6 separate regions of the Homo sapiens genome follow, and regions 1, 2, 3, 4 and 5 are each linked to region 6. Evidence: promoter capture Hi-C in 16 types of primary human blood cells and fetal thymus (Javierre and others, 2016). All regions are on one chromosome and are shown on one strand. Each heading gives the region's core, a stretch centred on a gene start or on the middle of the fragment in contact. The rest is flanking DNA. Distances are from core to core; before and after follow the strand shown. Region 1 has its middle 4.8 kb from the start of LINC00174. Region 2 overlaps TPST1 (tyrosylprotein sulfotransferase 1). Region 3 overlaps LINC00174 (long intergenic non-protein coding RNA 174). Region 4 overlaps TPST1 (tyrosylprotein sulfotransferase 1). Region 5 has its middle 46 kb from the start of LINC00174. Region 6 holds the start of TPST1 (tyrosylprotein sulfotransferase 1).

The links. The method cuts DNA at HindIII sites, captures the fragments that hold promoters and counts their contacts. A CHiCAGO score of 5 or more calls a contact.
Region 1: a contact is called between a fragment that was not itself captured here and the fragment with the promoter of TPST1 in region 6, in 5 of 17 cell types (M2 macrophages, M1 macrophages, M0 macrophages and 2 more). The highest score is 12.2, in M2 macrophages.
Region 2: a contact is called between a fragment that was not itself captured here and the fragment with the promoter of TPST1 in region 6, in 6 of 17 cell types (M2 macrophages, M1 macrophages, M0 macrophages and 3 more). The highest score is 15.0, in M2 macrophages.
Region 3: a fragment that was not itself captured here is called in contact with the fragment with the promoter of TPST1 in region 6 in 7 of 17 cell types (M2 macrophages, M0 macrophages, M1 macrophages and 4 more); the score reaches 18.7 in M2 macrophages.
Region 4: a contact is called between a fragment that was not itself captured here and the fragment with the promoter of TPST1 in region 6, in 6 of 17 cell types (M1 macrophages, M0 macrophages, M2 macrophages and 3 more). The highest score is 18.0, in M1 macrophages.
Region 5: a contact is called between a fragment that was not itself captured here and the fragment with the promoter of TPST1 in region 6, in 3 of 17 cell types (M2 macrophages, M1 macrophages and M0 macrophages). The highest score is 7.3, in M2 macrophages.

What each region holds. Positions count from the first base shown.
Region 1 is chr7:66,403,089-66,407,360 of GRCh38, reverse strand. It overlaps the pseudogene GTF2IP9. Among named protein-coding and RNA genes, the nearest start is that of LINC00174, 4.8 kb to the right of the region's middle. The HindIII fragment of the contact is 539 bases long and covers 1,529-2,067 here.
Region 2 is chr7:66,337,464-66,341,979 of GRCh38, reverse strand. All of the region lies in intron 3 of TPST1 (tyrosylprotein sulfotransferase 1), which reads right to left. Among named protein-coding and RNA genes, the nearest start is that of LINC00174, 61 kb to the left of the region's middle. The HindIII fragment of the contact is 5,399 bases long and covers 96-4,516 here.
Region 3 is chr7:66,373,815-66,378,161 of GRCh38, reverse strand. LINC00174 (long intergenic non-protein coding RNA 174) reads left to right here. Exons shown (of 5, transcript NR_026873.1): 5 at 1-2,118. Among named protein-coding and RNA genes, the nearest start is that of LINC00174, 24 kb to the left of the region's middle. The HindIII fragment of the contact is 3,463 bases long and covers 1-3,436 here.
Region 4 is chr7:66,358,614-66,363,254 of GRCh38, reverse strand. It overlaps TPST1 (tyrosylprotein sulfotransferase 1), which reads right to left. Exons shown (of 6, transcript NM_003596.4): 6 at 2,812-3,360. Among named protein-coding and RNA genes, the nearest start is that of LINC00174, 39 kb to the left of the region's middle. RefSeq lists a silencer at 631-795. The HindIII fragment of the contact is 473 bases long and covers 2,830-3,302 here.
Region 5 is chr7:66,444,436-66,448,751 of GRCh38, reverse strand. It overlaps the pseudogene RABGEF1P2. Among named protein-coding and RNA genes, the nearest start is that of LINC00174, 46 kb to the right of the region's middle. The HindIII fragment of the contact is 2,466 bases long and covers 1,373-3,838 here.
Region 6 is chr7:66,203,523-66,207,855 of GRCh38, reverse strand. TPST1 (tyrosylprotein sulfotransferase 1) reads right to left here and starts at 2,522. Exons shown (of 6, transcript NM_003596.4): 1 at 2,334-2,522. RefSeq lists silencers at 2,120-2,479, 2,630-2,899. The HindIII fragment of the contact is 8,515 bases long and covers 321-4,333 here.

The DNA of each region.
Region 1 (4,272 bases), core at 549-3,048, 200 kb before region 6:
GCAGTTTCTAAAAAGACCACGAAGCCCTGAGAGTAATGAAAAGGTTCCTGAAATTGAGGTCACTGTGGAAGGTAAGGGCCAGTCCTTGCCATGTTTCTGTTAATTCTCCAGTTTAATAGTTATGTCAATTCACTAGCTTCATGTTTATACAGATGAAGGTAACCAAACTAGTTTTACCTGTGAACAGCTGCCTGTGATAAAGCTAAATTTCTGAATGTCTTTAATTGAAATTTTGAAAATTATTAACAGGGAGTAAATAACATGGATCACATCATAAACTGCACTAAAGAAAATCCCTAAAATGCTTTTCCTTTATTACAACAAATAAGGGTGCAGAGGGTCACATGGAATGTTTCATCTTTTGTCTGCTTTTTTTTTTTTTATTCTTTTAAGGAAAGGAAGTTGAGGGGTGGTTTAAACAGCAGTGCCTGGAATCAAAGTATTTCCTACGACACCCTCTAATGTACTTCCTTCTCTCCATGCCCACGGGGTCTGCAGGGTTCTCATCTTTTCATGTTCACAGTATTAAAATACTTCATACAATACCAAAGACAGTTCCCAACCAACCATCAAATATGGGTATTTCTTCCATCTCCTCATAATTGCAAAAGGAAATAACTGCGTTAGGATCATTCTTTTTTATTTGGAGATGAAAGTCTCGCTCTGTCATCCAGGCTGGAGTGCAGTGGCATGATCTCTGCTCACTGCAGCCTCAGCCTCCTGGGTTCAAGCAATTCTCCTGCCTCAACTTTCCGAGTAGCTAGGACTACAGGCGCACACTGTCACATCTGGCTAATTTTTTTTTTCTTTTTTTTTTTTTTTTTTTGAGACGGAGTCTCGCTCTGTCGCCCAGGCTGGAGTGCAGTGGCGCGATCTCGGCTCACTGCAAGCTCCGCCTCCTGGGTTCACGCCATTCTCCTGCCTCAGCCTCCCGAGTAGCTGAGACTACAGGCGCCCGCCACCAAGCCTGGCTATTTTTTTTTTTGTATCTTTAGTAGAGGCGGGGTTTCACTGTGTTAGCCAGGATGGTCTCGATCTCCTGACCTCATGATCCACCCGCCTCTGCCTCCCAAAGTGCTGGGATTACAGGCGTGAGCCACCGCGCTTGGCTACATCCGGCTAATTTTTTGTATTTTAGTAGAGATGGGGTTTCACCATGTTGCCCAAGCTGGTCTCAAACTCCTGAGCTCAGGCAGTCTGCCTGCTTCGGCCTCCCAAAGTGCTAGGATTACAGGTGTGAGCCGCCGCGCCCAGCCTAGGATCATTTTTTTCTGTCCTAGGTGTTGATTTTTTAAATAAGAGTTTGCAGTACTGGTGTTTAGTGGTGCAATAATTTCCATTTAATCATCTGGCATACGCAGAGAGTATACCAGATGACTGAGAGTATATCTCACAGAGAGTATACCAGATGACTGAATGGGGATTAGAGCGAGTATTTAAACTCTTCATTCATTGATCCTGTTAAAGGAAAGCTTACTTAATAACATAAACTCTTGGTTATGAATTAGATGTTTCTCCTATGAAAGCTTGTGGGGATCTTTGAGCAACTTAATACCTGATTATTTCTGTTCAAAAATGCCGAGAACTAAAAATCCATTCAAACCTTTACTTTTCTCCTTTTGGAAAAGTGCATGAGGTGTTCCTTTTGGTAAAAAGACACACTGTGCGACCACAGAGACCTGAGCCTGAACCCATGAAGATGTGAACAAGGTGAACAATGAGACTATGTAAAGGGGAGGTTAATTCCAAGGTGACAGGAACTTTATGGAGAAGATTATGATTTCTACACTTTGTATCCCCTTCTAACTCTAGTATGAAGTTACATTGTATACGTTGGTGCTCTAATCTCAGTCTGTGGATATTAGATATTAAGATTGGGGAGAAAATAAAACAGCCAGTTAATGTGCACCATTTTTATAGGCACTGTCAGTAGCATATAAGAAATAGCATGTTTCTCAAAAGTAAATTAGTTCATAGTAGTCAGTTGGCACATTTGGCAGGTACTTCTGTGAACTTTTTTTTGCTATCTTTAAACTCTTCATTCATTGATCCCGTTAATCCAAAGCTTATTTAATAACATAAGCTTTTGGTTGTCAATTAGATGTCAGGAAAAACAGAGAAATGAACAGCTAATATAATGAGTTAAAAGGATTGAGGCTGTAGGAATAATGTTACCAAGAATAACTTGAGGATTGTTTGCTACTATAGCTAGCTGTGATTATCAAAATAGGGAGATGCCTGTTTTTCTCACATAAAAGTAATTGTGCAGGTAGGCTGAGGCTGACATTGGTTCAGTTGCTCAAACATGGTAAGACTGGCTTCCCTGTGCCTCTCTTCACTCTCCTTTCTGGTGCACAATGACCAAGAGAGCTCCTGTCGTCATGTCTCCATCCATCATGTCTCCATCCAATTATAAGTAAAGAAAATGCAGCATGAGCCCTGCCTGCACCCACAGTCAGGAAAAGCAAGAGGCTTTTTTTGAATCCTAGCAGAATTTTGCATAAGCCTCTTGGTTTTAAAAAAGGTGAATTTTAAAATAATAAAATAAAATAAAGCACAAACTCTGAGGCCAAGGTAATAGGATTTAAATCTGTGCTCTGCCACTTAGAAAAATTACTTAAATTCTCTATTCTTTAGGTTGCACACATATAAAATGGGAGGAAGAAAATAATATTTGACTCATGGTTTTTAAAATTTGAGGTGTTATTTCTTTAATAAACAGCTGCTATCATTTGAGAACACTTGCTATTTAGGCAGTTAGGAATTTTTCATTAGAAGGGATGTAAAGAAAGACGATGGGCATTTGTAATGGATTTAACATTCATCATTTGGCTGCCTGACTGACCCCCAGAGCTGTGATTTTACTAATGAATTTTTCAGAAGTCCCTTAGCTAGCAATGAGCCTAACCAGCCTCCCACTCTCACCATTCAGTGCTCTTGTTCTTATGTGTTTCTCTACAAACTTGGTTACTCTCACAAAGTGATAAAAACTTGCATTTCTTTTCTTTCCTTTTTAGAGACAGGATCTTGCTCTGTCACTCAGGTTGCAATGCAGTGGTGTGATCATGGCTCGCTGTAGATTCAAACTCCTGGGCTCAAGCAGTACTCCCGCCTCAGCCTCCCAAGTAGCTTGGACTACAGACGTACACCACCATGCAAAGCTAAATTTTTTATTTTTTTGTTGTAGAGATGGGATCGTGTTATGCTGCCCAGGATGATCTCAAACTCCTGTCCTCAATTGATCCTCCTGTCTCAGCCTCCCAAAGTGCTGGGATTATAGGCAGCCATGGGCCATCTGGGTCCAGTCTGCTATTTTCTTTTTTTAAATAACAACTTTATTGAAATGTAGTTCACATACCATGCAATTTGTTTATCAAAGTATGCAATTCAGTGGTTTTTAGAATATTCATGGAGCTGTGATCTATCACCACTATCCATTTTAGAAGCTTTCATTACCCTATAGAGAAATCCGCTGTTCTTTGCCACTAGCTAAGAACATGGCGGGGAGTAAGCTAGTGGCTTACTCCCCTCAACGCTTCTGTGTTCCCCATAGGCAACCACTGATCTATTTTTTGTCACCATAGATTTGCCTAATCTGGACCTTCTATATAAATAGGGTTGTGCAATATGTGATTGTTTGTGGCTGTTTTTTTTTTTCCCTCTTAGCACAGTGTTTTCAGAGTTCCTTCCTGTCATAGCATGTGTCAGTATTTCGTTCCTTCTATGGCTGAATAATATTCCATGGTACAGAAACACCACATTTTATTTATTCTTCAGTTGATGAACATTTGGGTTGTTTCCATGTATTGGCTGTTAATGAATAATGCTCCTATGAAGATTCATGTACAAGTTTTTGTGTGGACATACATTTTTATTTTTCTGGGATATATACCTAGGAGAGAAATTGTTGCATTCTATGATGTTGTACATTTAGCCTTTTGAGAAACTGTTTTCCAAAGTGGTTACACCAGTCAGGTGCAGTGACTGATGTAATCCCAGCTACATGAGAGGCTGAGGTGGGAGGATCACTTGAGCCTATGAGTAAAGAGAGACCAGCCTGGGCAAGATAGCAAGACCCTGTCTCGGTTTTTGAAAAATCAAATTAAAATGACAAGAAGACAGGTGCGGTGGCTTATGTCTGTAATCCCAGCACTTTGAAAGGCTGAGGTGGGTGGATAACTTGAGGTCAGGAGTTCAAAACCAGCCTGGCTGGGTATGGTGGCAGATGCCTGTAATCCCAGCTACTCGGGAGGTTGAGGCAAGGAGAATTTT
Region 2 (4,516 bases), core at 1,546-4,045, 130 kb before region 6:
TCTTGTTTTTTCTTTTTGTTTTACTAAGATATTTTCTCAACTTTATCCAATCACTGATTTTAAATTTCAGCTCTCCTATTTTTAGTTCCCAAGCTTTCTGAATGTTTTAGAAAATAGCAATTTATTCTTGTTCCTTCACCTCACCTCTACAAGAATATTAATTACAGTTCATTTATGATTTCTTTTGCTTATTACATTGTTTTTGTTATCTCCGAGGTACATTTTTCTTTCTTTTGGTCTCTCTTATGTTAGAGATGTTCTGCCAATTTCTGGCAAGTCTTGGCTATGAAGCACTACAAAGTTAAATGGAGTTCTCTATATGAGAGTTGAGTATAATTATGGGTGTGCTTTCTCAGCCAGCCTTTTTGTCAGGATTCTCCAAGTATAATTTTGTAGGTCTAGGCTGAGTGCGGTGGCTCACACCTGGAATCCCAGCACTTTGGGAGGCCGAGGCAGGTGGATCATGAGGTCAGGAGTTCAAGACCAGCCTGACCAAGATGGTGATAACCCATCTCTACCAAAAATACAAAAACATTAGCCAGGCATTTGTGATGGGTGCCTGCAATCCCAGCTACTTGGGAGGCTGAGGCAGAGAATTGCTTGAACCCAGGAGGCGGAGGTTGCAGTGAGCCAAGATCATGCCACTGCACTCCAGCCTGGGCAACAGAGCGAGACTCTGTCTCAAAAAACAAAAATTTGTAGGTGTTTTATATACCTATGTGTGTATAAAATGTGTGCACATATATATAGAACCATGGTGTTTTGGTTACCATAGCTTTGTGGTATTCAAAGTCAGGCAGTGAGATGTCTCCAACTTTGTTCTTTCTGCTCAGGATAGCTTTAGGTATTCAAGGTCTTTTGTCATTCCACACAAATTTTAGGTTTTTTCTATTTCTGTGAAAAATGTCATTGGTATTTTGATAGAGATTATACTGACTCTGTAGATTACTTTGGGTAATACTGACTTTTGAGACGGAGTCTCACTCTGTCACCCAGGCTGGAGTGCAGTGGCATGATCTCGGCTTGGTGCACCCTCTGCCTCCCAGGTTCAAGTGATTCTCCTGCCTCAGCCTCCTGAGTAGCTGGGATTATAGGCACCCACAACCAGGCCTGGCTAATTTTTCTATTTTTAGTAGAGATGGGGTTTCACTATGTTGGCCAGGCTGGTCTCGAACTCCATAACAATATTAATTCTTCTAATCCATGAGTATGAAGTATCTTTTCATTTTCTATATGTCCTCTTCAATTTCTGTCATCAGTCTTTTACAGTTTTCATCACAGAGATTCTTCACTTATTTGGTTAAGTTCATGCCTAGGTATTTTATTTTTTTTGTAGCTATGTAAATGGGATTGCTTTTCTGATTTCTTTTTCAGATTGCTTGCTGTTGATGTATAGAAATGCTACAGATTTTTGTTATGTTGATTTTGTATCATGAAACTTAAGTGAATTTGTTTATCAGTTCTAGCAGTTTTTGGAGGAGTCTTCAGGTTTTTCTAAATACAGGATCATGTTATCTGCAAATAAAGATAATGTGGTTTCTTCCTTTCCAATTTGGGTACCCTTTATTTCTTTCTCTTGCCTAATTGCTTGGGCTAGGACCTCAAGTACTAAGTTGAACAGAAGTGGTTAGAGTGGGCATCCTTGTCTGTTCCTAATCTTAGAGAAAAATTATTCATTATTCAGCTTTTCACTGTTGAACATGACGTTAGCTGTGGGTTTGTCATATATGGTTTGAGATATGTTCCTTCTTTTTTTTTTCTTTTTTGAGATAAAGTCTCGCTCTATCACCCAGGCTTTGTATTTTTAGTAGAGATGGGGTTTCACCATGTGGGCCAGGCTGGTCTCAAACTCCTGACTTCAAGGGATCCACTCACCTCAGCCTCCCAAATTGCTGGGATTACAGGCATGAGCCACTACACCTCACCGAAGTATGTTCCTTCTATACCGTTTGTTGAGAATTTTTATCAAGAAGGGATGCTGAATTCTACTGAATGCTTTTTGAGCATCTATTGAAATCATCATATGGTTTTTGGTCTTGATTGTATTAATGTAATGTACTATGTTTATTGATTTGGGTATGCTGAATCATCCTTGCATCCCTCGGATTTCCACTTTATCATGATGATTTTTTTTTTTTTTTTTTTTAGGTTGAGGGGTACATGTGCTGGTTTGTTATGTGGGTAAACTGTGTGTCACAGAGGCTTGGTGTACAGATTATTTCATCACTCAGGTAATAAGCATAGTACCGAATAGGTATTTTTTCTGATCCTCTCCTTCCTCCAACCCCCCACCCTCAAGTAAGTCTGTTCTTCCCCTCTTCGTATCCCAGGATGATCTTTTTAATGTATTGTTGCACTTGGTTTGTTAGTATTTTGTTGAGGATTTTTGCATCTGTGTTCATCAGGGATGTTGGCCTGTCATTTTCTTGTTGCATCCTGTCTGGTTTTGGTATCAGGGTAATGTTGCCCTTGTAGAATGAGTTGGGAAGTAATCCCTTCTCTTCCAAAAAAATTTTTGTTTTGAGGAGTTTGAGTAGGATTGGTATTAGTTCTTTAAATGTCTGGCAGAATTTAGCAGTGAAGCAACAGGTCCTGGGCTTTTCTTGGTTGAGAGACTTTTTTTATATGGCTTCAATCTCATTACTCATTATTGGTTTGTTGAGGTCTTTTGTTTCTTCCTGATTCAATCTTGGTAGGTTGTATGTGTCAGAGAATTTACACATTCCTTCTAGGCTTTGCAATTTTTTGGTGTATAGTTGTTCATAGTAGTCTCTAATGATCTTTTTGTATATCGGTGGTATCACTTACAATGTCCCATTTTTCACCTCTGGTTTTGCTTATTTGGGTCTTCTCTCCCCCCACCCACCACCCCCCAACACTTAGTCTTCTGAAAGGTTTGCCAATTTTGATTACCTATTCAAAAAAACATTTTCATTTCATTGATCTTTGTATTCTTTTAGTCTTGGTTTCATTTACTTCTGCTCTTTTATTATTTCTTTCTATTAACATTGGTTTGTTTTTTAGATGCCTTTTTTCACGGAGAAAAAAAGAACAAAAAATTGGGGGTTTGTTTGGTTTTGCTTTTCTAGTTCCTTGAGGTGTATCGTTAGGTTATTTGAAGTCTTTTTACTTTTTTGATATAGACGTTTATTGCTATACACTTCCCTCTTAGAACCGCTTTTGCTGTATCCCATAGGTTTTGGTATTTTGTTTCCATTTTCATTTGTCTCAAGAAATTTTAAAATTTACTTTAAAATTTCTTCATTGGTCCATTTGTTGTTTAATTTCCATTAATTTGTACTGTTTCCAATGTTCCTCTGATTATAGATTTCTAGTTTTATTCCACTGTGACAAGATAAATATAATTTCAATTTTAAAAATTTGTTAAAACTTGTTTTGTGACCTAATGTATGATCAATCCTGGAGAATATTCCATGTGCTGTTGAGAAAAATGTGTATTCTGCAACTGTTGGATGGAATGTTCTGTAAATATCTGTTAGGTCCATTTGGTCCAGAGTACAGTTTAATGTCTACGTTTCTTTGTTTCTTTTCTGTCTGGATGATCTGTTCACATTGAAAGTGTGGATGTTCCCTAGTATTACTGTATTGCAGTCTATCTCTCTCTTTAGGTCTATTAATATTTGCTTTATATATTTGGGTGCTCTGGTGTTGGGTGTATATATATTTACCATTGTTATATCCTCTTGCTGTACTGACCCCTTTGTCGTTATATAATGGCCTTGTCTTTTTTTTAACCATCTTGATTTAAGTTTATTTTATGTGATAAAACTATAGGCTCTCTTGCTCTTTTTTGGTTTCCATTTGCATAAATTATCTTTTTCCATACCTTCACTTTCAGTCTGTGCTTATCTTTACAGATGAAGTGAGTTTCTTGTAGCCAGCATATGGATGGGTCTTGTTTTTTAATCCATTCTGCCACTCTTAATTGAAGAATTTAATCCATTTATATTCAAAGTTATTACTGACAGGTAAGGGTTTACTACTGCCATACTGTTCCTTGTTTTTGGTTGCTTTGTAGATTCTTTCTTCCTATTTTCCTCTCTTACTGTCTTCCTCTATGGTAAGTGATTTTCTCTAGCAGCGTGCTTTGATTTTGTGCTATTTATTTTTAGTGTATCTATTATAGGTTTTTGCTTTATGGTTACTGTGAGGCTTACAAAAAAATCTTATAATAGGTTATTTTAAACTGATAATCACTTAACTTTGCAAAGAAAAGTAACAAAAACTCTATACTTTAACACCGCCATTGCCATTTTGACTTTTTGATGTTTTGATTTAATCTTTTTATTGCTTAAACAATTGTCTGTCTCCTAAATAACCGTTGTAGTTACTGTTTTTAATAGTTTTGTCGGCCGGACATGGTGGCTCAAGCCTGTAATCCCAGCACTTCAGGAGGCCGAGATGGGCGGATCACCTGAGGTCAGGAGTTCGAGACCAGCCTGGCCAACATTGTGAAATACTGTCTCTACTAAAAATACAAAAATAAGCCAGGTGT
Region 3 (4,347 bases), core at 456-2,955, 170 kb before region 6:
ATCATGCTGCCCAGGGGCCTTCACAGGCCCAGCTACTGCCTGACGATGGCTTCCCCAGGCCCAGGTCTTGCCTTCCCCCAGCCTCCCGAGGCCCAGCCCTTGCCTCACAGTTGCTTTCCCAGTCCACGTTACAGCCTGTTACCCGACGGCCTTGACAGACCAAACTCTTCCTTCACACTGGACAGTTTAGGACAAGCTCATACGTCTTCCAGCCTCTCCAGGTCAAGCTCCTGCCTCACACTGGCCTCTATAGGCCCAGGTGCTGAATCGCAATGGTCTGTTTAGGTCCATCTCATGCCTTTCTCAGACTCTCCAAGCGACGATCTGGCCTGACACTTGCTTCTGTGGGCCATGTGATCACTCACACTGGCCTCTTTAGGATCAGGGGATGCCTCTCCACAGGCCGAGATCCTGCCTGTTGTAGGCCCCTTCAGGATGCGCCGCTGCCTGACAGTGGACCCTCCAGGCCTAGATGTTACGTGATCATGGCCTCTGCAGGTCAAGAATTTAAATTTTCGCAGCCTCTATAGGCCAGGCTACTGCCTCCTGATAATGGCTTCTGCAGGCCCAAATCGTCCTGAAATAAGCCTCGCCAGGAACAGCACGTGTGTTGGATGCCCGAACAACCATAGCTTCTCCCGCACAGTGGCCCATGGGGGCCGGGCTCTTGCCTCAGCCTGGCCACCTCAGGCCCAGTTCTTGCCTGTTGGCGGCCGCTCCAGGCCCGGCTCCTGCCCCTCGGCCTCCTCTCCAGGCCCAGAACTGGTTCCCGTCGGCCTCTCCAGGCCCAGCTCTCCCGGCCACCTCCACGGGCCCAGCTCCTGCCTCACGACAACCACGTTCGGCCCAGCTCCTGCCCAGCTCCTGGCAGCCGTTGTAGGCCCCAGGCTTCCCTGCGTTCAGGCCTCCCGGACCCACCTTCGGCTTTCCGGCGGCCCTGAGAGACCCGGCTCCTGCCTGCCAGCGGCCTCTCCCGGCCCAGCTGCGGCCTCACGTCGGCCTCCCCAGGCCACGTTTCCGCCTGCCTCACGGCAGCCCCGGCAGGCCCGGCTCCCGCCTGCCGGGGGCCTCTTGAGGAGGCTCATCTCGTGCCCGGCCGCGGCCTCCCCAGGCCAGGCTCCTGCCTGCCGGCAGGCGCCACAAGCCCAGCTCCTGCGTCCCGAAGGCTTCTCTAGGCCCGGCTCGTGCCTCGCTGCGGCCTCTTGAGGCCCAGCTTTTCCCTTGTGGTGGCCTCTCCAGGCCCAGAACTTCCTCAAGTCGGCCTCCCCCGGTCCAGTGGCTGCCTCCCGGCCTCCTCTCCGGGCCCAGCTCTTTGCTCGCGTCTGCGCCCGTGGGCCCAGCTCCCGTCTCCAAACAGCCTCCTTCGACTCGGCTCCTGCCCAGCTCCCGGCGGCCTTCGTAGGCCCGAAGCCTCCTCCAGTCCAGCTCTCCAGGGCCGCGTCTTGCCTCGCCTCGCCTCCCCTCACCTTGCCTCACCTCGCAGCAGCCTTTCCAGGCCCAGCTCCCGCCTCCCGGCGGCCTTCCCCTGCCACGCTCGTGCCGGCCTCCCGGCAGCCTCCACCAGCCCGGCTCCTGCCTCACGCTGGCCCCTCTGGGCCCAGCTCATGCCTCGCGGTGGCCTCTCCGGGCCCAGCTCCCACCCAGCCTGACGGCGCCTCCCGGCCCCAAGCTGCCTTCCTCGATGTGGCCCAAAGTGGCCCAAAGCGTCCCAAAGTAGGCCTCGCCAGGCCCACCTCCTGCCCGGCGTAGGCCCTGAGGGGCGCGGCCCCTGCCCCATACTGGCCTCTTTTGGGCCCTCTCTTACACCAGCCCCTGTCTCAGGATTGTCTCTTCACGCCCATCTTCTGCCTCATAGTGGTCACTCAAGGCCTCGCTTTTGCCTGATGATTGCGTTTTCTGGTTTTGCTCTTGCCTTGTATTCCCTTCTTCGGGATACAGCTTTTACGTCTTCCATGGTGAACCTCATCAAGGAGACTAAATCTTCCCTGGTCTGTCATTTTTTTCACTTCACACCAGAGTGCCTTGGGAAAACCCCATCTCTTCTTTTAACCTTGAGAGTGGATTTCTGACGAATTGATAATAAATTTTTTCTCTGTGGTTTCAGTGATTTCTGTTTTATTTAATGTCCCATGGTGTTTTTTTGTCTGCTGGGGGTGAGGGTGGGAATGAATTTTTGGCCCTTTGTCTTTGCCCCGGAGATGGTAGCTTCTCACTTCATTTCTTCTGTTTTTATATTATTTACTGTTTTCTTTTCTTTTTTTCTTTTTGTTTTTCCTTAGGTTCTTACTCTGTCACCCAGGCTGGAGTGTAGTCATGTCATTATGGCTTACTGCATCCTTGGCCTTTTGGCCTCAAGTGATCCTCCCAACTCAGTAACTGAGACTATAGGCACATGCCAATATGCCTGGCTGATTTCTGTTTTTTTTATGAGGTTTTTTCTCACTAGGTTGCCCAGTCTGGTCCCAAACTTTTGGACACAAGCATTCCTTTTGCCTGGGCCTCCCAAAGTGCAGAGATTACAAGCATGAGCCATCATGCCCTGCCTGCAATTTTTCTGTCATGAACTATTAATAATTTACTTTTTGCTTAATATTCTATGACTATATATATTTATGTAAATATAGATACTTTAAATTTTTCTTTGATACCAATTTTTCCGGTTTTTTTTTTTTTTTTTTTTTTTTGAGGCTGGGTACTGCTTCGTCATTCAGGATGGAGTGCAGTGGTGTGATCTCGGCTCACTGCAAACTCTGCTTTTTTGGCTTAAGTGATCCTCCCACCTCAGCCTCCTGAATAAATGGGACCCCAGGTATGAGCCGCCATGCCCAGGTAATTTTTATATTTGTTCTAGACAGGAAGTCTCACCATGTTTCCCAGGCTGGTTTCAAACTCCTGGGCTCAAGCGATCCTCTCACATCAGCTTCCCACAGTGCTGGGATTACAGGTGGGATCCACACCTGGCCTGCCATTTTCTTTTCATAGATCATTAAGAATTTACTTTATGCCGGGCACGGTGGCTCACGCCTGTAATCCCAGCACTTTGAGGGGACGAGGTGGGTGGATCACGAGGTCAGGAGTTCAAGACCAGCCTAGTCAAGACAGTGAAACCCTGTATCTGCTAAAAATACAAAAGTTAGCCATGTGTGATATAATCGCAGCTACTCAGGAGGCTGAAGCAGGAGAATCGCTTGAACCCGGGGAGAGGAGGTGGCAGTGAGCCAACATCGTGTCACTGCACTCCAGCCTGGGTGACAGAGTGAGACTGTCCAAAAGAAAAAAAAAGAACTTGCTTTTTGATTAGTATACTGTAAATATATATATGTATATGTGTTATATATTTGTATATGAATATATGTGTGTGTATATTTTCATAGCGCACACACACACACATATATATTGTGAAAGAGATATCTGAATACCTAGAAACTGATAAGCTTCTTCCAGGTTTTGAAACCACCCTTAGAACAAAGACAAAAGAAGTACAAAGTATCATTATTAATGACCATGGACCAAGATGACCATGAGTCAATAGTACTTTGCACCTCAACCACCTTCCAGCAGAGCATCTTAAAGGGCTGGATGTATCTGAACATCACACCCTTTCACAGGGACTAGGATGCTTTGTAATTGTTACTTCTCTTAAGACCTCAGTGTGACCCTTGTCAACGTGAAATCAAACTATTTCTCAAATGATAGAGATATTGAATAACAGCTTTGGTCAGGAAATAGGTATTGCATTTGGTTCGTCATGATAAGTTCCTGGCCTAAGAAGATGAAATATTGCAGAAATGTGTGTGTGTTTGTGTGTGTGTGTGTGCGTGTGTGAACATTCTTGCGCACAGATGTGGGGGTGGAAGTGGGGTTTGAATTTGATAAGACCAGCAGTGGGCAGGCTGCTGGGAGGGGCCACTTGTTTTGGCAGTGGCAGTGTAACTCTAGAATTAACAAATGCTTCTAAGCCTCAGTTTTCTCTACTGGAAAATAAAGACTATAATTCCTGCCTTGATATGTGGATTAGGTGATCTGCTATATGCAAAATATCTAGTATATAATAGGCGCTGAACTATTGCTACTTTCTGTAGCTCATTCTTAATCACTGCTTAATTTTAAAAAGTTTAGAACACTGCTTTTATAAAAATTATTTGTAATTATTATGTAAAATCTAAGTCCTATAGAAAAGTACAAAGCAGGCCGGGTGCTATAGCTCACATCTGTAATCCCAGCACTTTCGGAAGGCAATGTAGGAGGATTGTTCAAGGCCAGGAGTTTGAGACCAGCATGAGCAACATAGCCAGATCCCATCTCTATAAAAAATTAAAAACTAGTTATGGTAACGCACACCTGTAG
Region 4 (4,641 bases), core at 1,817-4,316, 150 kb before region 6:
GCTGAGCTCTTAATGAGGTTGTGATTTCCCAGGTAGGGGGACTGGGTGTACGAGCATCTGGAAGAAGAAAGTGAAGAGAATGAAACAAGGGAGGAGAAAGGCACCGTATATCAGGGAGCAGTAAGGCCACATTGTGGCAGCAGAATAGCTTAGACATTTATTATTAATTTTTTTAGATGGAGTCTCACTCTGTCACCAAGGCTGGAGTGCAATGGTGCTATCTTGGCTCACCACAACCTCCGCCTCCCAGGTTCAAGTGATTCTCCTGCCTCAGCCTCCCGAGTAGCTGGGATTACATGTGTGTGCCACCACACCTGGCTAATTTTTGTATTTTTATTGGAGATGGAGTTTCACCATGTTGGCCAGGCTGGTCTCCAACCCCTGATATCAGGTGATCCACCCTTCTTGGCCTCCCAAAGTGCTGGGATTACAGGTGTGAGCCACCATGCCTGGCCAGCTTAGACATTTAGATGTAATGTTAGGCATTGGAGAATTAAAGGTTTTGGAGCAAATGAGTGACTTAAAACAGTGTTAAACACAAGATTGATCTGACAGCAGTATTTTTAATTTTTTTTTTTTTTTTTTGAGAGATTCTCCCTCGTCGCCCAGGCTGGAGTGCAGTAGCATGATCTTGGCTCACTGCAACCTCCGCCACCCAGGTTCAAGCAATTCTCCTGCCTCAACCTCCCGAGTAACTGGGATTACAGGTGCACACCATGCCTGGCTAATTAAAAAAATTTTTTTTGTAGAGACAGGGTCTCCTTATGTTGCCCAGGCTGGACATATTCATTTTAAATGGAAAGGGACAGGGCTAGGGAAGTGGACTGCAGAGGACATTAGAGTCAGGCTTGTGCCTGGGCCCAGCTACATGCCAAGTCACCTGTGGCACTAGGTGGGGGGCCTTGTGTAAGTGACCTGACCTAGTTGAGCCTGTTTCCTGATCTGTAAAACAGTATGTATGTCAGAAGGCTCTTTGGAGGATTAGTAATTCACCAAGTATTTTACTTGGTTTCTTTTCTTTTCTTTTCTTTTTTTTAGACGGAGTCTCGCTCTATCACCCAGGCTGGAGTGCAGTGGTGTGATCTCGGCTCACTGCAACCTCCGCCTCCCAGGTTCATGCCATTCTCCTGCCTCAGCCTCCCAAGTAGCTGGGACTACAGGCACCCGCCACCACACCCAGCTGATTTTTTGTATTTTTAGTAGAGACAGGGTTTCACCGTGGTAGCCAGGATGGTCTCCATCTCCTGACCTTGTGGTCCGCCCACCTCGGCCTCCCAAAGTGCTGGGATTACAGGCATTAGCCACTGCGACCGGCCTTACTTGGTTTCTAGAAAGTGCCAGTTTGCTAGGTGCCAAAAGTACAACAGACAAGAAAAAACATAGTCTTGGAACTCCAGGAACTTATTGGCTGGTGGAGGAGACAGATAATAAAAAAGGCAACAAACAGATGAAACACTGCAAAGTGTGACCATGAAGAAGGCAAGCAGCGGGAGAATTACCTTTTAGTTTAAGAGGCCAGGGAAAATCCCTCTGAGTAAGTGAGGCTTACCGAGACCACAGAATTGAGAAGGAGCCTATCAGACAAAGAACAAAGGGGGCTGGGTGTGGTGGCTCACGCCTGTAATCCCAGCACTTTGGGAGGCTGAGGAGGGAGGATCATTTGAGATTGGGAGTTTAAGACCAGCCTGGTGAACATGGTGAAACCCTGTCTCTACTAAAAATACAAAAATTAGCCGGGCGTGGTGGCACATGCCTGTAATTTCAGCTACTCGGGAGGCTAAGGCAGGAAAATTGCTTGAACCTGGGAGGCGGAGGTTGCAGTGAGCCGAGATTGTGCTACTGCAGGCCAGCTGGGTGACAGAGCAAAACTTCATCTTAAATAGCCAAAGGGAAGAACATTCCAGAGAGAGGAGATATGTAGAGACAGGAAGAACTTGCTATGTTCTGAAAATAAAGATACTTCTAGAGCACAAGCGGTGAGGTTGGGAGAGAGGCCTGCGATGAGATGGAGAGGAGGACCCTGCCGGCCCTGACAGGAGTCTGGACTCTTTTAAGTGAAATGGAAGCCACTGAAATGTTTCAGGCGGGGAGGCTCCTGTCCAGATGTGCATTCTAAAAACTCTTATTCTGCTGTGATCCAAAAAATACGTTGAAGGTAGGATCAAAGATCTTGGATGCGAATGGAAAGAGGGAGGAAAAGGGTGAAATCAAGTGTGACTCTTCAGTTTCTGGCTCAAGTGACAGTAGAAAATACTGCAGTTACTGATATGGATATGACCTAAATGGATAGGTACAAGTTTTGGGGCAGAGATGGGATAACATGTTATATACCCTTTTCATGGCTGGCACATATGTGAACACACTCAATATGGGAATTATTACTACTATCTGGACATCCTGGGTTTCATAACAAAGGCTTCTAGAAAACAAGTGGAAATAGTAACTTCCATGTCCTTAAATACAGTCTGCAAGCATGAAATAGAACAGGATTCTCAAAGTGGATGGCAATAGGTTCTCTCTTGAAATAAAAAGAAAACTTCACTACAAAATGATAATGCAGGCCAAGCACCGTGGCTCACACCTGTAATTTTAGTACTTTGGGAGGCTGAGGCAGAAGGATCGTTTGAGCCCAGGCTGGGGAATGTAGCGAGACCCTGCCTCTACCCACCACCCCCCTCCAAAAAAAGGTGATGGCTCCAGGGGAGTATCTACAATACAGCCAACCAAGGAAACTTTGGTTTATCACATCAGCATCTGATAAGGTCTGTGCTTCTCTGAAATCACATTAATGAAAACATGTAACTACCAGAATGCTTCACATTGAAAGCTTTTATTTTGAAAAATAAAATACAAAAGTCATTAGGTTGTAAATGTATAATGGTAATTTCCCAACTTCTCAGAAACAATACAATGAATTAAATAATTAGGATATTTAATATTATTCACATCAATACACTTAAACAGGCACACGTGTTCTACAAAACATTAGAACATGTACAGACAACCTATTTCAAAAGGAGACTGCCCAAGTCTGCTTACAGGATCCCATTTTTAAACCCTCTCCTTGAAAACAAACGTCATAATGTAAGAAAAGAGAACAAGAGGAGTTTTAACAGGAAACACATGTTCCTTCTGGGCTCCTTACTGCAGGGCTGTGCATGAAATCGGGATCAAGAGCTCTTTGCTCAGGAGGCAGATCCCTCACGAGGCCCAAAGCTGTGCGGACACCTCCATCCTCTCAGTGGGAGGAAACTGGCAAATGCACAGGCGGCGCAGCCAAGGTGCAGACGCTCCACCAAGCTTGGCAGGGGACAGCCAATCCTAGGAATTTCCCTTCTGCTGAAAAGGCAGCAATCTTTCCTAGGGCGAACAAACAGAATGTGGTTACAGGTGTGGAGTCCCGGTGTGTTCTCCCTGTGTCTTCGTCTCTTCCTTCCCAGCTACAGGCCTAGACAAGCCAGGCGGTTGGGGAGGTTCCTGCAGATCAGGGGCCAGGAGGATGGATGTTGAGAACAGCTGCCTCAGGAAGACTGCCTGGGAGGCACACACACCCTCACTCTGGTGCTTTCAGATGCATGCAAGTAGCTGCTGGGTGCAAAGCAAGCAGATGGCCAAAACCAGGGCTGCTCCTGCCCATTTCTAAATAACTGACTGTCATCTGCTATTGTTGCTACTGTGGGGGCACTGTCAGGGGCACCAGATGTCCAGGGGTCAGCACCATGATTCCTCGTGTGAAGAAATGGGTCCTAAGGTTCTTAAAGTGTCCAGGGGTCAAGACCCTGATTCCTCCTTATGTGAAGAAATGGGTCCTAAGGTTCTTCAAGTGTCCAGGGGGCAGCACCCTGATTCCTCCTCATGTGAAGAAATGGGTCCTAAGGTTCTTTAAGTGTCCAGGGGGCAGCACCCTGATTCCTCATGTGAAGAAATGGGTCCTAAGGTTCTTTAAGTGTCCAGGGGGCAGCACCCTGATTCCTCCTCATGTGAAGAAATGGGTCCTAAGGTTAAGTGTCCAGGGGTCAAGACCCTGATTCCTCCTCATGTGAAGAAATGGGTCCTAAGGTTCTTTAAGTGTCCCAGGGGTCAGCACCCTGATTCCTCCTCATGTGAAGAAATGGGTCCTAAGGTTCTTTAAGTGTCCAGGGGTCAGCACCCTGATTCCTCCTCACGTGAAGAAATGGATCCTAAGGTTCTTTAAAGGAAGCTCCAGAGAACACAGATACTGTTATTGAAATGCCAAAGGGACCCAAAAGATAAGAAAGATAGTATCCATCCTAAGGGCTTTGCTGTGTCCCCAGTTCTCCTGAGTCCTCCTCAGCACAGGTTGGCCCCTCCCAACCTCCACACACAAGCCAGGGTGAAATGCTGCAGAGGCAACTGCTGATGCGGTCCATCCTACAACACGCTGGTAAAGAAATGAGGCCTTGTGTGTGTTTGGTGGGGCGGGCAGGGAGATTACCTATGAAGTTTGAAAGCATTTTGTATAAACAAAATTAGCCAAGGCCTGATAACTGCTGTTAAATATGCAGACCCACAGGGCATAAGACTAACATTCAGCATTTGCTCCTCAGCAAAAAGGAAACCTGAATCCTAGAACCTGTCAATATTAGCAGCTTGCTGCCATCTGGGATTTTGACATGACGG
Region 5 (4,316 bases), core at 1,356-3,855, 240 kb before region 6:
GGTGACTTTGGAGTCACTCTTGATTTGAGTCCTAGCTTTGTCATTTACCAGCTTTGTGACCCTGGGCGGACTAACCAAGTCTTGTCCACACTGAGGGACAGTAATACCTATCAGAGACATTTGATGAGGATTCAGTTAGTTGACATATGTAAAGAGCTTAGCACAGTGCCCGACACACACAGTAGATCTCCAGTAAGTGTTAGCTTTTTTAAAATGCAAGTTATTCTTCTGATAGAATAATCTTGCAGGGAGCTCAAGGCCATTTATTATTAAGTTCCTTCATTCCTATTTAGCTTAAAGTCTGTTTCTTGATGATATGTAGTGAAATGGTAAGTATGATAACAGATGAAATAGTAAAAAAAATCATCGAATTATCAGCTCTAATAGCCTCATTTTGCAGATGACAATATGAAAGTCCATAAAGGTTAACTAATTTACCCAAGGTTGAACGATGAGTTTGTGCATGAGAACTCAGGTTTCCTAACTCCTGGGTCAATATTTTTCCATTATATTCCTTTATTCAATGTGTATACTTCAGAAACCCAGGTTATTTAATGTATATAATAAATAGTAAATATATATATATAATCAAGTTTCTGTTACTTAAGTACATAATTGTCATTTATATTCGCTGACTCTCCTTGGTGGTTTTAAAAACCTGTGTCCCAAAAGCCTCTGTACAGTGTGCATGATACTATGGAAAGAAGATTTACAATTTAGTGCAGAGTCTGTACTTTAAAAAGAAACCATTCTCGAGTTGGGTGCAGTGGCTTGTACCTACCTATAATCCCAGCTACTTGGAAGACTAAGGTAGGAGGATTACATGAGCCCAGGAGTTAGTGGCTGCAGTGAGCTGTGATTGTGCCACTGTATTCCAGCCTAGGCAGCAGAGTGAGACACCATCTTTGAAAAAATTAATTAGTTAAAAAAAGAAACAATCCAAGTGACTTTTATTTTAAAAATGTGTATGCAGAATGGTTTTTACCTTTGTTCTTGTTTCTCCCCACCCCGCATCTTTTTGAATGGTAGATTTGTACTTTCTATTTTTTGTTCTTTAGTTGCTTTTTGTCAGTAGAAAGCTTTGGGGATAAAGATCTTAAAGTATTTGAAAATTTATGTTAGAAGAGAAGATTCCATTATGTCTTTGTTTCACAGATCACTTAATATAAGTTAGCCAGGTAAATTTTGCATTTCACACTGATTACTTGTTTGGCCATCGTGTTTGGATAAGGTTAGCCTAAGTGCAGTTTTAATGTATTGGGTCTAGACTAGAAACAGACTTTTTGGATTTTGTATTCTTGATCTTCTTTAGTCCGTGATGCCCTTGCTCTTGGTATTTTGCTTGTTTCTGTTAGTAACATAAAGGAAAGCTTTTCGCCATACACAGCAGCTTGGTAGCAGACAAAATACAAATAACCTTCTAAGGAATTTGAAGAATATTTTCACATTTTTTTAGAGTTGGATTCACTTTCAGAGAAAGTAAATGGAATGTCTTGACTGTAAAGACTCAGTTAAAGTGTTTTAGTCTCCACAGTCATGGTGAGTGAGCTGTATAGAGGAAGTCATAGTGGTTGGCCAAGCTGAGATCACTTGCTTATACATTCCAAAGTGCCCTTTTCTTTCAGAACTCCTATAATCTTGTCATCCCAAGTAGAATCTTGTGTACCTCTTTCACAAACAGATCTAAAGACAGTGATCCTCCAAAGCGTATCTTTTCTTTTTTAGAGTTAAAATACCAATACCACCCAGACCTTAGATTCTAAATAGTATTATTCATTAAAGTGAGCCAGGGCTTCTTAGAGAAATGACTGATTCTGGGGCTGGGGCAGGGAAAAAAAGGCCCCTTCAATATTTTGGTTACATTTCAGAAGATCTAGAAGCCAGCTTGGAGGGGTTTCCACTGGCCAAGTCTGGGATAATTTGAGTGTCAAAATAAACAAGGACAATAAGGCCGGGCACGGTGGCTCACACCTGTCATCCCAGCACTTTGGGAGGCCAAGTTAGGCAGATCACCTAAGGTCGGGAGTTCGAGACCAGCCTGGCCAACATGGTGCAACCGCATCTCTGTCTTTTTTTTTTTTTTTTTGGCACAACCCCATCTCTACTAAAAATACCAAATTAGTCAGGTGTGGAGGTGTGTGCCTGTAATCCCAGCTACTTGGGAGGCAGAGTCAGGAGAATGGCTTGAACCCAGGAGGTGGAGATTGCAGTGAGCTGAGATCGTGCCACTGCACTCCAGCCTGGGCAACAAGCGAGACTCCGTCTTAAAAAAAAAATAAAGTGAAGAAATCAATAAATAAGGACAATAAATGAAGTATAACTGAACAAAATAATAATCCGTGTGTTAATTTAACTAGTAAAATAGAGAAATACAGCTGGCACGGGGGCTCACGCCTGTAATCCCAGTACTTTGGGAGGCCGAGGTGGGTGGATCACCTTTGCTTGGGAGTTCGAGACCAGCCTGACCAACGTGGAGAAACCCGTCTTTACTAAAAAAATACAAAATTAGCCAGGCGTGGTGGCAGATGCCTGCAATCCCAGCTACTGGGAGTCTGAGGCAGGAGACTCGTTTCAATCCGGGAGGCGGAGGTTGTGCTGAGCCGAGATCATGCCATTGCACTCCAGCCGGGGCAACGAGCAAGACTCCATCTCAAAAATAAAAAAAAAATAAAAAAAAATAGAGAAATACACAAATGAGAGGTTATAGTCATGTTAGTAGCAAAAATTGATTCAGGTAAAGTTTATCTGGGTGCTAAATCTTGGATGAGGGGAGGGAGTTTCCCAGGAAACAAGTTACGAACATGATCTCAAATTCACTGCCAATGAATTATTTATGTGTTTATTTTTCTTTTTTTCCTTTTTTTGTGGAGACGGGAGGTGGGTCTCGCTGTGTTGCCCAGGCTGGTCTTGAACTCCTGGCCTCAAGTGATCCCACCACTGTAGCCTCAAAGTGCTGGGATTACAGGTGTGAACCACCATGCCCAGCCAGATTATTTATTAATTATAAATAGAGAAATGGTAACTATAAAATGGGGATGTAGGAGGCAAGGATAGATGTCATGTGTGCTTCCAGACATGACACTTTGAGAACACAACATCATTTATGAAATATCTAAGCCGAAAATTTTTAACAACCTGAATCCAGTCATGAGGACACCCAATCTAAATGGCATTCAACAAGATACCTGGCCTGTGTTCTTCAGAAGTGTCATGCTGAGAGAAACAAAGGTTGGGAAAATTGTGAACTGCTCATTGTGAACAATTGAGAAACTTGGAATATGGATTTTCAATTGAGTAAAAGTATTTTATCAATGTAAATTTTCCTGAATTTGGTAGCTATCCTGTAAGGTACATAAAACAATGGCTTAATCCCTTTGCATTGCTATAGAAGAATACCTGAGGCTGGGTTACTTATAAAGGAAAGAGGTTCATTTGGCTCACAGTTCTGCAGGCTGTGGAAGAAGCATGGAGACAGGCCAGGTTCAGAGGCTCACGCCCGTAATCCCAACACTTTGGGAGGCCGAGACAGGCAGATCACTTGAGTCCAGGAGTTGGAGACCAGCCTGGCCAACATGGCAAAACCCTGTCTCTATTGAAAATACAAAAATTGGCCAGGCATGGTGGCCCATGCCTGTAATCCCTACTACTTAGGAGGCTGAGGCAGGAGTATCACTTGAACCTGGAAGGCAGAGGTTGCAGTGAGCCGAGAATGCGCCGGTGTACTCCCGCCTGGGCTGCAGAGTGTGAGACTCCTCAAAAAAAAAAAAAAAAAAGAGAGAGATTGGGCAATGGAAGGCTTGATAATCATGGTCTACTTGCTATTCCTGAAATACAAGCTTTGTTTCTGTATTAAAAACATAAGGTGCAGCTTGGTCCAGTGGCTCATGCTTGTAATTCCAGCATTTTGGAGACTGAGGCAGGAGGATCGCTTGATCCCAAGAGTTCAAGACCAGCCTGGGTAACATAGTGAGATTCCATCTCTTAAAAATAATAATAATTAGCCGGGCTAGTGCCTGTAGCCCCATCTACTCTGGAGGCTGAGGTCGGAGGATCATTTGAGCCTGGGAGGTTGAGGCTGCAGTGAGCTGTGATCGTGCCACTGTATTCCAGCCTGGGTGACAGAGCGAGACCCTGATTAAAAAAACAAACAAACAAACAAACAAAAACGCAAGGTGACTTTAAGTTGAAGAGCAAGCACTTGCCATTTGAGCCCTAGCCAAAACTATGAACTGTAATGTGGGTGAGGTTGTTCTTTTCCATATTTCCTTCTTCTTCACTTCTTTCACCTTACACACTGAATCCCTATTGGCTGTTCA
Region 6 (4,333 bases), core at 1,273-3,772:
AAATAGTAATGTTTGTATATGTGCTTAAAGGGGGCTATGGGTGGAGAGAAAGGGAAGGAAAAGGTAACCACATTTGAAGTAATCAAGCATCCACATACAGCTATGCAGTAGGCAGATGAAAATTAGAACCTGAGGTTCAAGAGAAACGGGGACTAAATAGACGTCTTTGAAAACCATAAATATATAGGTGCTATTTGAAGCCATGAAAGGAAGTGTAATCACACAAGGAAATTAGAGAAAAGAACAAAAATGAAACCCTAAGGAATGCCACGTTAATCTGAGAAGAATAAAAAAAGAAAAGGGAAGCATCAAGAAAAGCTTTGTTTTGGTCTGAATGGTGGAAACCTGAGGATGTATACCATCCAACAGAAAAAATAATAATATGGGAAGAGATCAAAGACGTTAGCTTTCGAAAGTAAGACCCCTCTTCTTCTGAGATCAGAGGAAAGGATATTAGAAATCAGGTACAGACAGGCACAGACAAAAATGACCTCTCCTTAAGAGTTCAGGGCTGATGCCCACCAATTTATTCTGTGAAGTTAAGTGGCAAAATAAGCAATGAAGAGAAGGCAAGAGTAGGACAAAGAGTCAGAGAAAAATGGTAAAGATCCATAAACAGCCATTTAGATTTTAGGACATAAGAGGAATCTAGAGGTTAAGTCAAAGGATCTCCAGGATCCAGAAGTGCAGAAACAGCACCCAGCAGTTTAGTTATATGATTTTTGCCAGTCTGCCTTGGGAGCCCAGGAGCAGAAAAAGCTGACTGATTCGTCCAGGCTTGAGACCATCAGAGCAAAGGTGGCAAGAATAGTACAGGGCCAATGACAATGCTTTTATCATTTTAAAAAGTCAAACGTATTTTACTCTTTTTTAAAAATCGACTCGCTATTTCCTCCAAGAGCGAGTGTTTGGAGAGGGGGAGGGAGAGGGGTGGATAATTCCTCTCTCACTCTTAGAGGACTTGTCAGAAGTTTCATTCTTAAGCATATTTGGTCTGTACAGCAGCTGATTCCAGGAAATCCAAATCCTGATTCCTCCTGGATCTTAAAAGATGAAAATTCATTGCAGCTCCCTGGACTATCCAGCTAATAGATAAACACGTACCACATTGCTTATATACTATGCCACTTTAGCTGGGAGGTAGGGGCTCTTTCTTTCCTAAAAAGAAAGTTACCCAAACACTGCAGATGGGGATGGAGAGGGGATGGGGAGTAATTACACCGCAAAGCCTGCTGACTAGCAGCCTAAGAATCCTTTACAAAGGCAATTAACATAAAACAATACATGGCACGGATAGCAGAATTGTTTCTTCTTAATGAATGCAGTAATTGACCATTTAATCGCTTTACTGGAGTTCACCAATTTCTCCTGCCATCTCCCATACCATTCTTCAGGCAGAGTCAAATCCCTGTGGACACTGGACTTCTTGCTACCATCATCTGGAAAGTACAAAACGCCTGGAAGGAGGAAGAGGCTAACATGCGTGACCACCCACCATGTGCCAGGCCTACTGTGTGCTAGACTCTGGGCAAGGGACTTTACATGTTATGGGGTGCAGCTCATGTAAGGACGAATGAAGATATTACACTATGGATCTGAGCCAGGCGCAGTGGCTCACGCCTGTAATCCCAGCACTTTGGAGGCCGAGGCAGAAGGATAGCTTGAGGTCAGGAGTTCGAAGCCAGCCTGGGCAACATAGAGACTCCATCTCTCAAAAAAAAAAAAAAAAAAAGCGATGAATCCGGCATTGCAGAGAGTGGGAAAGTGTCTGGAGGTTTAAGAGTAAGAGAAGGAAGAGGAGATTGCGATGGTGGGTGGTCAAAGTGAGGGGAGAAGAGGCGAGTTGGGAAAGGAAGGTGCTTAGGAGCAAAAGGGCAAGACCCAGGGACACCTGGAGCGGGGCGGGCGACTGCCATGCAGACAGGACTACGTACAACGGGTAGGATGATGGGGCGATGAGCTCAAGAAGCGCAGCCGGGGTAGACGTGGGGGCAAATGTCCGATCCCGGCGAGACGAGGGTCTCATCCCAGGGGACTGCGGGGCTAGGACGTGGTCCCAGGGCTGCGAGAAGGGAGAGAAAGGGCAGAGGGGAGAGGCCCCGGCGGCCGGGGCGAAGCCGAGCCCGGGAAATGCCGGCGATGGGGGAAGGGGCGTGGGAGCAGGGGCCGGACGGGCCAGACCCGGGGCTCCGCGCTCGGGGGCGGGGTTGGACAACCGGGAGGCACCGAGCAGAAGGCGACAAGGGGCCAAGGGATGCCAGGACGGGGCACAGGGCCGGGTGTGAGGAGACGAGAGGGGAGCGGAGCCGCAGCGAGCGCCGCGTCCCCCTTACCTGGGATGAGTGAGGAGCCGCCGCGCCGCCTGGACGGCATCCTGGCCTCAGCCGCTGGTCCCACCGCCTTCGGTGGGGGGCCACTCGGGAGCCCGCCCTCACCGCCAAGCGCCGGCAGCTGCCAGCCTGGACCGGCCCCGCAGAGCAGCGCCGTTCCGACCCGCAACCGAAGCCGCCTCAGCAGCGTCTCCCGCGGTCGCCAACTCAGCGACAACCGCCAGGGTCCGGGGAGGTGGCGGGATCACACATCTGCTACGATTGGCTGAGCGGACGATGTGTCGGCTGCTCTGATTCGTGAGTTCCGGCCGGCTGCCCACCGAAGGAGGCGCGGCTGGGAATGGAGCTGGGTCCGGCAGGCGCCGAGGGGCGGGGGTCTGACGTCGCAGCCGGCCAGCGCCCCCACAGCCCTTCCCGTGCGCGCTCCCGAGGGGGCTTCCCGGCAGCCGCAGGCCTGGCCGGGTGGTTGCCCTAGCAACAGCGCGCGTGGCCTGGCTGCAGGGGAGCCGCGGGCAGGTGGCGGTCCTCACCGCCCCCACCCCCAACGTGGGTGTCCCAGAGGCCTTCATCAGTGAAACCCTAGGACAGGAGAAGAAAATGAGCTTTTCCTGATAATTCCTCTCCTCTGCTTCAGAGCCCACCTTTGCCCGCTGCTGGCAGAGAAGCTGTCATCTCCTCGGGGAGATAACGCGCAAATGCAAATAACGAACTCAAACACTATTTCATCCCCACGAGAGTGTAGACGTGCAATAGTCCCTCCCAACCACAGAGGTGGGGGGCTGACGCCCTAAAAGAAAGAAATGAAAACTAGGGAGAAAAAGGCAAAGAAGCAAAAGAAAGGTGGGGAAAGGGCAGATATTTCACAAAATGATCCATTCATTTTACAGTTTCTTCCTACAGACACATCTACACCAGGTTCTGTCAAAGCAATTATTTCTACTCCAGTGACATGGATTAGAGAAGGCATGAGTGCAGAATCTAACAGCTGTATTCAAAATTGCTCTCTGCTAGGCCAGGTGGGGTGGCTCATGCCTCTAATCACAGCACTTTGGGAAGCCAAAGCTGGTGAATCACCTGAGGTCAGGAGTTCGAGACCAGCCTGGCCAACATAGTGAAACCCCGTCCCTGCTAAAAATACAAAAATTAGCCGGGCATGGTGGCGGACGCCTGTCGTCCCAGCTACTGGGGAGGCTGTGGCAGGAGAATTGCTTGAACCCGGGAAGGTAACTACCTTCCTTTGCACACAGTATAATATTTTCAAAGTTCATCCATGTTGTAGCATGTATCGGCACTTCATTCCTTGTTACGGCCGAATAATAGTCCATTATACAGACATCACCTTTTTTTTTTTTGAAGAGTCTCACTCTGTCTCCCAGGCTGGAGTGGAGTTATGTGATCTTGGCTCACTGCAACCTCCACCTCCTGGGCTCAAGTGATTCTCATGCCTCCGCCTCCAAAGTAGCTAGAATTACATGCATGTGCCACCATGCCTGGCTAATTTTTATATTTTTAGTAGAGACGGGGTTTCATCAAGTTGCCCAGGCTGATCTTGAACTCCTGGCCTCAAGTGATCTGCCTGCCTTGGCCTCCCAAAGTGCTGGGATTACAGGCATGGGCCACCGTGCCTGGCTGGACATCATCTTTTATTTATCCATTAATCCATTGATGGACATCTGTTTCTACTTTTTTGGCTATTATACATGATGCTGCTATGAACATTTGTGTAGAAGTTTTTGTGTGTGGCCGGGTGCAGTGGCTCACGCCTGTAATCCCAGCAGTTTGAGAGGCCGAGGTGGGCGGATCACAAGGTCAGGAGATCGAGACCATCCTGGTTAACACGGTGAAACCCCGTCTCTACTAAAAATACAAAAATTTAGCCAGGCATGGTGGCTGGCGCCTGTAGTCCCAGCTACTCGGGAGGCAGAGGCAGGAGAATGGCGTGAACCCGGGAGGTGGAGGTTGCAGTGAGCCAAGATTGTGCCACTGCACTCCAGCCTGGGCAA